Regions from separate parts of the Homo sapiens genome. Here region 2 is linked to region 1. Evidence: promoter capture Hi-C in human tissues and cell types (Jung and others, 2019). All regions are on one chromosome and are shown on one strand. The core of a region is centred on a gene start or on the middle of the fragment in contact, and the rest is flanking DNA. Distances in the headings are between cores, read along the strand shown. Region 1 holds the start of FBXW8 (F-box and WD repeat domain containing 8). Region 2 overlaps MED13L (mediator complex subunit 13L).

What was found. The method cuts DNA at HindIII sites, captures the fragments that hold promoters and counts their contacts. A contact is called where the count stands out against the background at its distance.
Region 2: a fragment that was not itself captured here is called in contact with the fragment with the promoter of FBXW8 in region 1 in 1 of the 25 tissues and cell types used here (bladder).

The regions. Positions count from the first base shown.
Region 1 is chr12:116,909,112-116,912,273 of GRCh38, reverse strand. It overlaps FBXW8 (F-box and WD repeat domain containing 8), which reads right to left and starts at 1,324. Exons shown (of 11, transcript NM_153348.3): 1 at 919-1,324. The coding sequence starts at 1,236. RefSeq lists silencers at 857-1,116, 1,277-1,496. The HindIII fragment of the contact is 14,688 bases long and covers 1-3,162 here.
Region 2 is chr12:115,967,769-115,970,856 of GRCh38, reverse strand. MED13L (mediator complex subunit 13L) reads left to right here. Exons shown (of 31, transcript NM_015335.5): 27 at 87-263; 28 at 1,760-1,917. Among named protein-coding and RNA genes, the nearest start is that of LINC02463, 83 kb to the right of the region's middle. The HindIII fragment of the contact is 6,936 bases long and covers 1-3,088 here.

The DNA of each region.
Region 1 (3,162 bases), core at 75-2,574:
TGAGGCTGCAGTGGGCCGGGAGAGCAACAGTACACTCTAGCCTGGGCAACAGAGCAAGACCCTGTCTCAGAAAAGAAAGAAAGAAAGAAAAAAAAAAAAAAACAGGAAAAAAAAAAGTGGGTTCCCAATTGTAAAGCTGTAGGGACTTCCTTTGGGCCTAATTTAAATCAAACCATTAGAACCTGGAGCCTTGTCCTCTTAACCTGGGAGCCACGGATGCATTTCAGGTGTTCTTGATTTTCCCAACTTTCTGAAGGGGATTATTTTTAACGGACACAGGGTCCCCAGCTTCCTCCAGATTCTCCAAGGTATCCACGCCCCACAAAAAGATAAGAAACTCTATCCTAATGAAAGTGCCCAGGAGATTCTTCCTCCTCTTCTTCCTTTTTTTCTGAGATAATTTTTTTGAATACGTGCACGGTTACAAAAATTAAATAGTGCAAACAGTATACAAAGGTAAAATTACTTCCTATCCATCATCTGGGTCCTCCTTTTCAAAGGCAACCTTTGTTCAAAGTTTAGGTAGCCTTCAAGAGCAGGATTTCTCAACCCCACACTTACTGATATTTTGTCCTGGATAATTTTTTTGTGCGTGGTGTCCTGTACACTGTAGGATGTTCAGGAGCATCTCTGGCCTCTACCCACTAGATGCCCAGTAACATGCACACATACACACCCCGATGAGGCACCCAAAAATGTCTGCAGACACTGCCACATCTGGGGGAACAAAATCGCCCTGGTTGGGAAGTGCTGCTTCCAGAAAGACCCCTATGCAAGCACAAACATTGGTGTTTGTGCGTCTACTCATTTTCTCGGGCAACTAGTGGCACACAGTTACTCTCCAAATCACTGCAGGGGTTTGTCCTGGGGGCGGGGGCCGGCGCAGGCATGGGCGGGGGGGAGGCGACGGCCACTCACCAGGTCGCGGATGAGCTGGTCCACCAGCTGCTCCCCGCCCCCGGCGCCCTCGCGGGCCAGAGGAGAACGTGAGCGGCTCGCTACGTCCTGCCCCTCGGCCCGAGTCGCCCGCGCCGCCGGGGGCCTCCCCGCGCCCTCCAGGAGACGCTGGGCCAGCGCCGGGTCCCCCGAGGCCTGTTCGCCGCGCCCGGAGCCCACCTCCGGCCGCCGAGCCCGCCTCTCGGCAGCCTCGGGCCGTCGCCGCTTCTTCGGCGCCTGGGCCTGCGCCAGCTCCTCCTGCCAGCGCCGACGGAACTCATCCAGGCTGTAGTCGTCCATATTCGCCGCTCCCGGCGCTCCACGTTCTCCTCGGTTCCACCGGGTGCCACGAGACAGTCCCGCCCAGGGAAGTGTCCGCCGCGGCCGGAAGCCGCTGCCGCCGCCGCTCTAGGGTTCCGGGTGGGCGTCCACGCCCCCGCCACGCCCCCGGCGCTGCCCCTGTACGCACGTGGTGGTCCGGCTTGTGGCTTGTGGCGCCCAAAGCAGAGGTTTACGCAGCTGCCCCTCAGCCCGTCAGCTCTGCTGCCTATCACTTTTGCTAAGCTCTGACTTTGCGCCAAGCATTGTTCCTTCATTCAACAAACATTCATTCAGCAACTACTATATGCCAGGCACCAAGAATTCAGCATTTAAATCTGTAAAACAAAACAAAAACTCTGACGTCTTGGAGCATGCGTTTAAGTAGGGAGACTTTAAACAAAGAAATATGAACATTTAAATCAGTGATAGGTATTAGGAAGAAAACAAAATAAGGTAAGGTAAGGGGAGTAAGGATTGATAGTGAAAGTCTGTTTAAGATGTTATTTAAATTAAAATCTAAAAGAGAATCAACAGGTGGATAAAGAAACTGATATATACATATGGTGGAATACTACTCAGCCATAAAAAAGGAATGAATTCATGGCATTCGTAGCAACCTGGATGGGATTGGAGACTATTATTCTAAGTGAAGTAACTCAGGAATGGAAAACCAAACATCGTATGTTCTCACATATAAGTGGGAGCTAAGCTACGAGGATGCAAAAGCATAAGAATGACTTATGGGACTTTGGAACAGGGGAGGGGGACGAGGGGAGGGTGGGAAGGTGGGGAGGGATAAAAGACTATAACTTGGGTTCAGTGTATACTGCTCGGGTGATGCGTGCACCAAAATCTCACAAATCACCACTAAAGAACTTACTCATGTAACCAAATACCACCTGTTCCCAATAACCTGTGGAAATAAAAATTTTTTTTTAAAAATCTGAAAGAGAAACCAGCCAAGGGAAGGTCAGATCTTAGGAGAGAGATTTCCAGAAGGAAATCCAAGGGCTTTAAGATGGGAAAGAAAATGACATACGATGGCGTTCCACTTAAAAATGTTTTCTTTGCACCTGATATTCCCTCAGCAGGGAACTTTTCCCCCCACCTTGACTTGGTTAACTCCTACACATCTTTCATATCTCAACTCACATTTCACTTAATCTTCCAACCTCCACTCAAGAAACATCAGGTATCCCTGTTACTCATTCTCACAGCATCCTGTACTTCTCATCATAATACATAACACAATTTGTAATTTTATTTTTATGTATATATATATATCCCTTCCCTTCTAGATTGGCAACTCTTAGCTTTGAGACTGGTGATTAATACATGCTCAATAAATGGTTTTTTGTTTGTTTGTTTGTTTGGTTTGTTTTGTTTTTGAGACGGAGTCTCGCTCTGTTGCCCAGGCTGGAGTGCAGTGGCGCGATCTCGGCTCGCTGGAAGCTCCGCCTCCCGGGTTCACGCCATTCTCCTGCCTCAGCCTCCTGAGTAGCTAGGACTACAGGTGCCCGCCACCACACCTGGCTAAGTTTTTGTATTTTTAGTAGAGATAGGGTTTCACCATGTTGGCCAGACTAGTCTTGAACTCCTGACCTCAAGTGATCCACCCACCTCAGCCTCCCAAAGTGCTGGGGTTACAGGTGTGAGCCACCACTCCAGGCTCAAAGATGCTCTTGCAATTAACTGTCCCTTATTCCTTGTCTAACTCTTCTTAGTCTCTCAGGCCTCTTCTCTAGAATCACTTCTGTAAATAAACTAGCTGCCTACAAACCCAGGGCTCAGGCTTGCTTACTGTGGGAAACCAGGCTTGGACAACCTTCACTGTAGAAAATTAGAGTATATGGTTGGGCGTATATTCACACCACTACACTCCAGCTTGGGCGACAGTGCGAGACT
Region 2 (3,088 bases), core at 538-3,037, 940 kb after region 1:
CTCATACCACTCCAGATCAGGCCCTCTGAAAACCTCATTTCTGGGGTTGTTCATTGATTGATATAATTCTATTTTTTTCTTTAAAGATGCTGTCACAATGGGCTCTGTTTTTGGCCGAAGTACTGCACTGAACATGCAGTCATCTCAGCTCAACACCCCTCAAGATGCTTCTTGTACACACATCTTGGTGTTCCCAACATCATCAACCATCCAGGTGGCTCCAGCCAACTACCCCAATGAAGATGGGTTTAGCCCCAACAATGGTGAGTAGAAGACCTGTATGGATAGTGCTCACCTTCATGCAGGGCAGAGCCGGAGTATGGAATCACTGGGCTGCCGCATGGCTTTTCTGTGTTGTAATAAACAACCCAGGAACTATAAAGAGGGGATAGAAGGTTTGAGAATCTATTTGGTCTTAAAGCTTTGATTTATCTGCACAATTAACAAGACCAAATAAATATTTTCCTTGTTTGGGCAATTAACTTTCTTCCATTTTTCATTAAAGGCAAAAAATAATACCTGCGTGGCACTGTTCTGTACTTAGGTGCCACTCTTTCAATAAATATTTGCTGATGTGATTTGAAATGTGTGAAGTACTAAGCAATATGAAGAGAGCACCTTCCTTTAGCTAGTCTATGGCAATCTAATTTGCTATAGAGAAACCCTTATTTGATTATTCTTAATGGAAATTTTTGAATAGCTGTTAAGGTATTTGTTTAAAAAAATGATTATTTATAAACTATAAAACACTCAACACAGCATCCATTTGCATTGTTTTTGAAGAAATTATAACACCTACCAGTGTTTATTTATGGTAAATGGGATGAGGAAAAGGATACCAAATTTTATATCTGGTATGATTACAATAGAATAACAAATATATGAGAAAATAAAAGAATCATAGAAAAAAATGATCATGGTGATTGGGTTCTAGGTGATGGTTTTCACTTTTTATACTTTTCTTTACAAATTTTCTGCTGTGAGTGTACCTTACTTTTATAATGTTGGGGAGGATTTCTTAATGAAAATGCTGGGCCAGGCACGGTGGCTTATGCCTGTAATCCTAGCACTTTGGGAGGCTGAGGCAGGCGGATCCCTTGAGGTCAGGAATTTGAGACTAGCCTGGCCAACGTGGTGAAACCCCATCTCTATGAAAAATACAAAAATTAGCCAGAAATCACTTGAACCCAGGAGGCAGAGGTTGCAGTGAGCCGAGATCGTGCCACTGCACTCCAGCCTGGGCAACAGAGGGAGACTCCATCTCAAAAAAAAAAAAAGAGAGAAAACATTGTGCTTTGATTTGCTTTTGGAATAGGTCTCCATTTTCAGGGCAAGTTCACACTCATTAACATGCATTCATTCAGCCTCTGGTGTTTTAGATGCTAAGTGGATACATAGATGGAGTCTACTGTGTTTTTGAATGGTGTCAATTTTAATGATTAAATTGTTGCTTTAGCTCTTTTACCATACTTTTATGTGTCTTTGGAGGCTATGCAGAGTGTAGGTTTTTATGTTATATTCTTTATTGCATTCTGTTAATACTGTACATAAGGAGATCATTGGAGAGAGTACAAAATGAAAGAATAATTTGTAATAGCTTGCACTCAGTAGGTCCTAACTGAATCTAAGTTATTAACAGTGTGTGTCCATAATAGCCATATGCCAACAAAACATGACATAGGTTAGGTTGGATTATTATGATATTGATATGTGGACTATCTTTTTAATTTTTGTGCTTTTTTTCCCCCCTTCCCTCTAGATGATATGTTTGTTGACCTTCCATTCCCAGATGATATGGACAATGATATTGGCATATTAATGACTGGGAACCTCCATTCCTCTCCCAACTCTTCCCCAGTACCCTCCCCAGGCTCTCCTTCTGGAATTGGTGTGGGCTCTCACTTCCAGCATAGTCGGGTAAGGATGATTTGGAGTACGTTGTTTAAGACAACCATAGCCTTTAGGAAGATAATCCACTGGACATCTGATCATCTTGTTCCTACTTGCACAGTTCTTGATGGTCTGGGTCCTTGGTACAAGAGAAATAAGTGTGGGAAACTGACTATGGTTCCATTTTGAATAGAAGGCAGGAATTTGAAATAAATATGTTATTATTTCTGATGAATAAGTTTTATCAGAAGAATAGTCCTATTACAGATGCAAGGGTTTTTAATGCATTGTTTTCTTAGCAAAAATTAGTTCTAGTTGCTTGCTGCTTCCCAGTTTTTTAATGGTTTTATTTTTTGCCAAAATAGTGGCTTTTAAGAGATTAGTACAACAACCGTACTTACTCAACATGCAGAGTAATTGTGCTGATTGAAGAACACGTTGGTGATGGCTTGTTCTGAAAGGAGCCTGCCGTGCTCTTTGCGTGTCCTGGCTTAGTCATTTTGCAGCCTTCTTCTTTCTAGCCGACCTGCAGGAATGGCAAGAGCCGCCAGGAGATTGATTTTACAGATGTGTCCAGGTTAACGCCAGAGTATTAAGGAAAAAACCAGAGCTTACAACTGGTTTCATCTTTAAATATCTCAGGGATATTGGAGGTGGATGAACAACAGAAGATTTAAGAGTTAGAGGGTTCTGCCACAGCTTGTGGTAACTTTGCTTCAGTTAGATGATTCCTGCTGCATCACTGTATTGTACTGTTTATTTAAAATGTTATGAGACTGGGGAGTTAAGACTTTGAAAAATAGCTATGTCTGGTATCTTAGACTGAACAAGCATAAGCAGCCTGCTCACACTCATTTATTTAGACACAAAGATGGACATAAAGGACTTCAGTTTTCATCGGGGGGGGGGGGGGACTTTTATTCCCAGCACTGAATTTATTAGACGCTGGAGAGAAAAAAGGTTTATAGCTTAGATTAGTCACAGAGCAGGTAAGACCAGAGGAGGGCATCTCAGACTGTTCCCATGTTATACCTGCCCCTATTACCCTCTTCTGGAAGGAAGGGGTTTTAAGGGTCTTTGTTTCCTTTGCAGTACTTACCAGTTAATGATAATTTGTTCATGGGAAACGGTTGTGATAGGAACGAAAAACACAAATGTTACATTGTCTATTTTTTTAAAGTTGGGTTTAATTTGAATT